Linked DNA regions of Homo sapiens: region 2 is linked to region 1. Evidence: promoter capture Hi-C in 16 types of primary human blood cells and fetal thymus (Javierre and others, 2016). All regions are on one chromosome and are shown on one strand. The core of a region is centred on a gene start or on the middle of the fragment in contact, and the rest is flanking DNA. Distances in the headings are between cores, read along the strand shown. Region 1 holds the start of USF3 (upstream transcription factor family member 3). Region 2 has its middle 59 kb from the start of QTRT2.

The links. The method cuts DNA at HindIII sites, captures the fragments that hold promoters and counts their contacts. A CHiCAGO score of 5 or more calls a contact.
Region 2: a contact is called between a fragment that was not itself captured here and the fragment with the promoter of USF3 in region 1, in 1 of 17 cell types (neutrophils). The highest score is 6.7, in neutrophils.

What each region holds. Positions count from the first base shown.
Region 1 is chr3:113,694,748-113,699,154 of GRCh38, reverse strand. It overlaps USF3 (upstream transcription factor family member 3), which reads left to right and starts at 2,513. Exons shown (of 7, transcript NM_001009899.4): 1 at 2,513-2,785. RefSeq lists silencers at 2,303-2,772, 2,793-3,182. The HindIII fragment of the contact is 8,785 bases long and covers 1-3,451 here.
Region 2 is chr3:114,113,046-114,117,452 of GRCh38, reverse strand. No RefSeq gene overlaps it. Among named protein-coding and RNA genes, the nearest start is that of QTRT2, 59 kb to the right of the region's middle. The HindIII fragment of the contact is 8,503 bases long and covers 1-4,407 here.

The sequences.
Region 1 (4,407 bases), core at 1,264-3,763:
CCCCGCGGGCGCTGGCACCCCCCAGGTACCGCACACAGTAGTCCCTAGGAAGGAGGCTCACTTTGCGCGTTCTTGCCTCCTGGAGCAGGATGGGGGTGGGTGGAGCTGAGGCCGGGGCCTCCCCGCAGCTCTGGCCGCCGCCCCAGGCTTTCAGTAGCCTCCTCCCGCAGTCACTCATCTCCAGTAGTAGGAAAAAACGGAGGTCTTGATATGAAACTGGGGATGCAAGGAAGTACTTATATATCATGCAAATAGTCTTTCAGCACCATTGAAAAGTCTCAAGAATGTGGGTGAAAATCAGATTCACTCTGTCCACTTGAAAAAAATGAACTAACAGCCCTATAGACCAGTTTCACTTGGCCAGTATATTTTACCACCAATATAGGTCACTGTAAGCACTGCCAGCTAGTTTGAAAATAGGACTGGTGTGATTATCTGAAACTGATGTTGAATGGGTAAAGCCAAAAAAAAAAAAGATCTCTGGGCTTCAGCCCAGGAGTTGAAGATCAGCCTGGGCAACATAATGTGACCCCCATCTCTATCCAAAAGAAAAAAATAATTGCCGGGCATGTGGTTCCAGCTACTTGGGAGGCTGAGGTGGGAGGATCGCTTGAGTTTGGGAGGTGGAGGCTGCAGTGAGCTGTTACAGTGCCACTGACCTTCAGCCTTGGCAACAGAGGGAGACCCTGTCGCAGGAAAAAAGAAAAGAAAGAAAACAAAGGAAAGGAAAGGAAAACAAAGGAAAGGAAAGGAAAGGGAAAGGGAAGAAAAGGAAAAGAAAAAGAAAAGAAAAGAGAAAAATCCCTGTTTGGGATTTAGGCTACACTTAGGTAATAAGGATTAATTTAAAAAGCTAATATTCTGATCTTTATCAAACGGAAATTGTTCTTCTTTTCTACGTCTATATCGTGCCAGAAATATATTAATGTGTATTTTTTAAAGGTGATCTAAAGGAATGGTTAAATTCTGTTTCATGAATCATCAAAACTATTTGTTTTTACTTTAGAATTGATGCATTGCAGTTGTTTAGGAAATCATGCACACCCTGGATATGATATTTGTTAACGAGAAATACCTTGTATTCTGAACACACTGGAAATTGTTTCCTATGGCTGAGCATACCAATACTATACAATTTTATGGTGATGTTATTAGCATTGCTATTATGGCTCTGACTCGTAGAATCTTTCTTATCTGCAGTTTTGATTTGGATGTGCCAAGTCTGTTCAAAGGCTAATTAGAACTTCGTGTGCCTAGATGGATGAGTTAAAGAAAATTTCTAGCCTGTTTATTAGTACCACAGTTTATAAGCAACATTACAGGCCTTCCGTTTCATCATAGCTTTTCAATCTGCTGTACAAACATAAGACTCCGTTACTGTTAGCCTTTACCCTTTTGCTCAATGCGATGTCTGCTGCTTCTGTATACAGGCTCAAGTAATTCCCATTATGCCATGCCCTGTGTGCACCTTCTGGAAGTTAGCCCACGGACATCTAAGATCTGGGATATTTCCAAATCTGGTTGTGGAAGGGCTTGGAAATCTATAACCGCAACTAGGTGGAGGACACCTGTTTCAGCAGGAGGTTATAAAATATGAAGCGAAACTAGGAAGAGGGAGTTGTGATCACGGTTCCAAGGGCTCCACACAGATCCTGGAGTTAAGGGGCACTCAGGTCTCCATTTCGTGACCCCTGGCCCTACCTCTCCTAGATCCAGGTATTTAGTAACCCAGGCTTGAGATCTCAAACCCCATCCCCCAATGCCAAACTCCCTTGTCCCAGCTGGGAGGCCCCCAGGGCATTTCTGAACATGGCCATCTCCAATTCACAGAAATCTGTGTGTTGTTGCAAATAAAGGATGACAAGAGACCACAGCCTACGAATGCGAGCAGCGTCAAGTCAGCAACAATCTTCCAGTTATCGAGAAGTCGGAAACGTCTGATTCTTTCTTCTCCACATTTACTAAGACGTATCTTCTCACCTTCCTGCCCTCCACGTTAAGAGGGGCTAACTATTCCGAAAGACTTCCGTGCCCTCTTCCTTTTCAATTTTTCCACTTCCAAACTCCTACCGAAAGACGAAGAAAAGAGACCACAGAAGAAGATACAAAGAAGTTTCTTAAAACACCTTCTTTTCTAGGTTCTCAAGGCGTCCCCTTTAAGGAACCAGGCCCACCTCTTTCCCATTCACCTACTGGCTTTCCTTCCTGTCCGTCACTCTACCTTTAAGAATATTTCCTGTTTCTTCAACCCAACTTGCACACCTCCGCCCCCCGGCCCTCCTCATTGGGCCGCCCGATCCCCGTTCACTCCTTGGTTTCCTCTCCGCCTCCTCCCGCCCTCTAGCGTAGTGCAACGGCATTCTGTCTTCTTATTGGCTACCACGGCAGCGTTCCCGCAGCCTGATTGGCGGGTTGAGTGAAAGAGGCGGGAACGCGGCGCGCCCAGGGTAGGCTGTTCGCTTGCTGAGCTGCGGCCGCGGGAGGGGCGGGGAGGGGCGGGGGGAGGGGGGCTGGGAAAGTTGAGGCCGCGCTGCCGCCGGGTCTCCGGCCTTGAGGGCTCGGGCTCGCAGCGGCTGCGGTGGCCGCAAAAAGAGGCGGCGGGGGCGGGGGGAGAGGAGGGCCTGGGCCCGCGCTCCCCCAGCCCCGGAGGAGCAGGCGGTGGCCGCGGACGGAGAGATTCGCCCAGACGGTCAGACACTCCTGCCTTCCCCTCCTGGGATCATGACCCAGGCGGGGGTCGCCGCCGTCGCCGCCGCCACCGCGGCCGAGACCGCGCAGCCGGCGGGTAAGTGACTGCGGGAGGGGGCCGCTGACAGCCGGGGCGGGGGGCGGGGGCCAGGGCTGCGGGGGCGGCTCCGGAGGGCGGCCCCGGGCTCAGCTCCACCCACCCCCTTCCTGCTCCGGGAGGCCAGGGCTGCGCTAAGTGCGCCTCCTTCCTGGGGACCCTTGCGTGCGGCACCTGGTGGGGCGTCAGCGCCCGCGGCGAGCGCACCCCTCATCTCCCGCCCGCCCTGCGTCCCCGGCTGCCAGGCCCGTGGGGGGCTCGCACTGCGCCCCAGCTCCTAGATGCGCGCGGGGCGAGAGGGGCCCCACGCTGCCCTGGGTGCATAAAGAGCTGGGCAGCCAGGTTCACACCAGATGGCCTTTGCCCGCCTCCTTCACCTTTTCCTGTCTTCTTCATTCCCCTTCTTTCCTTGCCCTCTGAATTTCTTTCGTACCCGTTCGTCAGACTCATGTGGCTTGCTTTTTCCCTCTCACCCCTCTGTCGAAGTGTTAGGCTTGTGTTTTCTTTTTAGAAGCCGTTCTTTTGCTTTCTGAGTAGAAGCAGTGCAAGTGAATGACCAACTCTTGAAATCTACTTTCATGTATCCGGATGAAATATAAGATTCCTGGACTCTTGTTCATGTTTACAATTTTGATAGTTGAATTCACCCCACTCGTTCTTGAAGCTTGTCCTCCCAACCCTCCTCGTTACATTGGGATATGGTCCTTTGCGTTTATTAACTTTATCTGGAAATATGAGACTGCATAAACCAAAGTGCAGAATTTCAACTTCCGTTCTTGTAACATTTTTACCATCAAGTAGATACAGTAACCTAACACCACACAGATCAAGACAGTCGTGGCCAACTGTGTAGGCAAAGAAGACATTTCCTTACCTATAAACAACGTACAGATTTCTTGAATAAATCTTACGGTGAGTTACATGGATCCTGAAACATATTCCCAGGTTTGCTCTTTTGTAAAGAAAACCAAACAGACAAACCTGCCTTTTGAAGGATCAACAGGCTGTCCTACTCTCCATTCACCTTGATGACTTTTTTCTCTCCCATAGAACTCTTGTTTAACATAGTACAGAGTTGCTGTTTGGGATACATGTGTTGTTTCTCTTTAAGTACTCAAAGTATTTGTTACAAAAGAAGTAAAATACATTGTAATTGCACTTCTGAAAGCAGAAGTAGTGTAATGTATCCATGCAAGAATGAATGCTTAATCCTAAAGCAGTTTTGCTTTAGCCTAAGCCAAGCTTTTCCAACCCCCGTCCAAGGACGGCTTTTAATGCGGCCCAAGACAAGAAGACAAGTTCGTAAACTTTCTTTTATTTTTTTTGAGACAGAGTCTCACTCTGTCGCCCAGGCTGGAATGCAGTGGTGTTATCTCAGTTCACTGCAACCTCCGCCTCCTGGGTTCAAGCAATTCTCCTGCATCAGCCTCCTGAGTAGCTGGGATTACAGGTGCATGCCACCAGCCCAGCTAATTTTTATTTCTTTAAGTAGAGACAGGGTTTCTCCATGTTGGCCAGGCTGGTCTTGCACTCCTGACCTCAGGTGATCCGCCTGCCTCTGTTTCCGAAAGTGCTGGGATTACAGGCATGAGCCGCTGCGCCCGGCCTCAAATTTGTAAACT
Region 2 (4,407 bases), core at 806-3,305, 420 kb before region 1:
ATATCATTTGGTCATCAAAAGGAATGAAGTTGATACATGCTACAATGTGAATGAACCTTGAAGACACTCACTGTGCTAACGAAAGAAGTCAGACACAAAGGTCACATGTTGTATGACTTCATTTATATGAAATATTCAGAGTAACAGGTAAATCCATAGAGACAGAAAGAAGACTGTGGTGTCCGAGGTTGGGAGAAAAAGGAAAGAGGAGTAACTGTTTGATGGGTACACAGTTTTCTTTTGTGGTGATGAAAATATTTTGGAACTAGATAGAGGTAGTTGTTGTACGATATTGTGAATGTAATAAATGCCACTTAATTGTTCACTTTAAAATAGTTAATTTTATCTATATGAATTTTACCTCAATAGAAAAAATGTTTAAATTATGAAAAGAAATTTAAAATTAAAAAAGAACAGGGACCTCTAACATTCTATGTTCTGAGATTTGAAAACTCAATATGTTAAGATGGCAACTTTCTACAAATTGATATATAGACAACACAATCCCTCTCAAAATTCCACCAGCCTTTTTCATCACGAACTGACAAGCAGATTGTAAAATTTACATAGATGTACAAAAGACCTAGAATAGCCAAAAGACACTGTTTAAAAAGAAAAGTACCTAGAATAGGTAAATCTGTAGAGACAGAAAAGAGATCAGTGATTTTCCATGCGTGGGAAGAAAGGAGTTGGAGAATGTTTAATCCTTGATTTCAAAACTAACTATAAAGCTGCAGTTATCAACAGTATGGTATTTGCAGTAAGAAGACATATAGACCAATGGAACAGAATTGACAGTCCAGAAATAAATCGTTATATTTATGGTCAATTGATTTTCAGCAAAGACAATTCTGGGAAAAGAAGAGCCTTCCAAAATTCATATGTTGAATCTATAACCCCCAATGTGACTGTATTTGGAGTTAAGGCCTATAAGGAAGTAATTAAGGTTAAACTTCCATTAACATAAGCAGTTACTTTAGTCCAATGCAATGTTTGGCAGGATCCTGTTTCAGTGGATCAAATGCTACATAGGCACTGTCTAGCTGAAGTTGTATGAATAGGATAAGTGTCCATTCGTATCAAAATCACAGGGTGGAATCACATGGTGGAAAGGACCCATTTTGTCATTAAGAAGAATAATTTGCCATTAAGAAGCTGGTTGGTCTTCTTGAGGGATGGAGCCATACTGGAGACTCAGTGATGGTATCTGTTGCTGTCAGGCTGGATCTTCAGCAGTGGCAGTAACTAGATCAGCCTTAGCAAGTGAGAGCACGTGTTGTTGGGCCTATAAATAGCTTCCATCACCACCACTGTTTCTCAGTCATGGTTGTTGTACTTATCCATTTATCATCAAAATTAGGCAAGGGAGTATTCTTTTCTGTCGCCATCATGTAAGAGAAGAGCTATCTTCTCCTGATTAAGAAAGTCAATTAGGCCAGTCACTGCGGCTCACACCTGTAATCCCAGCACTTTTGGAGGCCGAGGCCAGCAGATCACCTGAGGTCAGGAGTTAGAGACCAGCCTGGCCAACATGGTGAAACCCCATGTCTACTAAAAATACAAAAATTAGCAGGGCTTGGTGGCAGGTGCCTGTAATCCCAGCTACTTGGGAGGCTGACAGAGGAGAATCACTTGAACCTGGGAGGCAGAGGTTGCAGTGAGCCGAGATGGTGCCATTGCACTCCAGCCTGGGTGACAAGAGTGAAACTCCGTCTCAAAAAAAATAAAAATAAAGTCAATTAGTCTTGTTAGGATGGTGTCTCCATTCCTTACCCATGGTCCATTAATGTGCCTATTGTGCCAGCACTGATAGGAGCTGGCTGACATCAACTGGCTAAGACATTCTACTTCCCAGGTTGTATAGAGTCAACTGTCCAAATAATTCACTACTGCCTATAAGTGATACATATCTTATCTCAGAGTATTTCTCTCGACAAAGGCACCATCTGATGCTTTATCCATTAGGAAGAATTTCTCTCATCCCTAATTTTCTGGGACACGCTAAGGATGTGGTCCTGTTATATAGCAATAGTCTATTTTTAGCTTGCTACTACATTCCAATCTTACCCGTACATAAATCAAACTCAGCTTTTGCCCTCACTTTATGCTGCCGTAAGTGTGAGCTAAGGGTGAGGCATCAGTGCAAATGTGATGGATGACCTAGTAGTCTGGGCCACATATGCGTGCAACTTATTTGTGCTCTCTGGCTCTGCTAATGCCTGATCCCAAACGTATCATTTCCTTCCTTACAATTGTTGGTAGGCCTGCCTGCCTTCATGATTTGGGGGTCTGTCAGAATTCGCAATGGGCAGTCCTTGCTGTGTGGACCCTTGGCATCCCATAGTTGGGTGCTGTGTTCCTACTAGGAACCAGTAGGGCACCAGGAATATTTATCTAAACGTATAGTTCTCTGCTGCAAATTGCTTGTCTTGCTTCTGAATCCTAGGGGTCTATTTGTGTTTGCCTATTGAGGCCTGCCATAAAATGTACACAGCCTTTTTCTATCAATGATACCTCCTATACTGTAGGCTCTACCACATCATGTGACCAAAATCATCATATGACAGAGCAGCTTGCACTACTGCCTGGTCCTGCTGCAGAGCCCTTTCCTGCTCTGGGCTCTCTCCAAATCTGGTAGACTCATGTTTCAGCTGGCGTATGTGCTAGAGTAGTGTCTCTGAGTGTGAAATGTGCTGCTTTCAGAACCAGAAGACGCTTATTGGTGCTGGGTTTCCTTCTTAGTTATGGGAAATGCAAGTTACAATAATTTGTCCTTTACTTTGAAGTGCATGTCTCAGCATTCCCCAGCCTACTGGACCTCTAAAAATTTTACTAATGTGGAAAGTCTCTGAATCTTTATAGTATTTTTTAAAATCTCCCACCCTTTGGAGTATATGTGTCTAGCCAAGGCTTCCAAAGCCCTTGCCAGTTGTTCACTTGGTCTGATTAATATGATGTTACAGATGTAGCAAACTAATGAAAAGTTGTGCAAAATGTCCATGTGGTCCAGCTTCCTTTGGACAGTATTATATCCACAGATGGGAGAATCTGTATAGTCATGAGGCAAGGCAGTAAATGTAAACTTTTGTTCTTCCCAAGTGAATGAATTTCTGATCTTCCTTACTGATAGGGATGGAAATGAACACATAAACACACCAGATTGATGGCCTCATAGTATATACTTGAGGCCATGTTAAAGACATCACATCTGGCACCACAGCTGCAATTAGGGGCTACCACTTAGTTGGCTGTGTGGCAGTCTACTGTCATCCTCCAGGGTCTGGAGGGGACAGACTGATGCATTAGTGGAGACCATCAGCCCTGAATTCTCTAGATCTTCAATGGTCACCCTAATTTCTGTCATGCCATCTACCGTCATTTTTAAAATTTATTATCTTGCCTTGAGGGGAAGTTTCAGAAGCTCCCACTTGGCCTTCCCCGTTACACTAGTTCTCCAGGGTCAAGCACACAACGATGTTCAGCCAACTGCTACATATGTCCATCCCAATTACAAATTGGAATTTACACATTTGGGAACTAAGAAAACGACCCACCATGAGTCACACTTAAGCCAATGTTACATGTACTACCTGGCTCCCATATGACCTCACTTCAACAGGAGGTCCATGATGACATGGGTCCCTAACAAACACAAACTCTGAGTTGGAGATTCACATGCAGAAAGTTTATCGGAACTTGAGGATCAACACTCACGTAGGATAAAGGAAGACTGGGCAGAAGAGGAGTGGGACTCTGAGTCAGTTGTAACAAGGACTTTGGCAGTCCCATAGGGGTCTCTGGATCTGGGATAGCCCTTCAAACTTGTCCTGGCTTTAGGCATACAAAACAGGCTTTTATATGCCCATATTACTGAGTTATAAGAAGTATCTGTCTCCAGGGAGGAGGCACAACCTAAGAGGGATGGTTCTCTTCAGCTGAGAACCAGTCCTGGACAGGGACTTAGCTGAGAGCCACTGGCCATAAGCCACCAACACTCCCCTCAGCTGGGGGAATAACTGCCTTAGTTTTGATGTAAGACTATAGGCAGTAGACTATAACATCTGCTACATGTGCTCAGCTAAAATTCTCAGATGTTTTCCACTAAAGTTATATTAAACCAAGTCTTGAACTTTTGTATTTTTGTTTGTTTGTTTGTTTTGAGACGTAGTCTCGCTCTGTCATGAAGACTGAAATGCAGTGGCGTGTTCTCAGCTCACTGCAACCTCCTCCACCCAGGTTCAAGTGATTCTCCTGCCTCAGCCTCCTGAGTAGCTGGGATTACAGGTGGGTGCCACCACGCCTGGCTAATTTTTGTATTCTTTAGTAGAGACAGGGTTTCACTATGTTAGCCAGGCTGGTCTCGAACTCCTGGCCTCAAGATGATCCCCCCGGCCTCAGCCTCCTAAA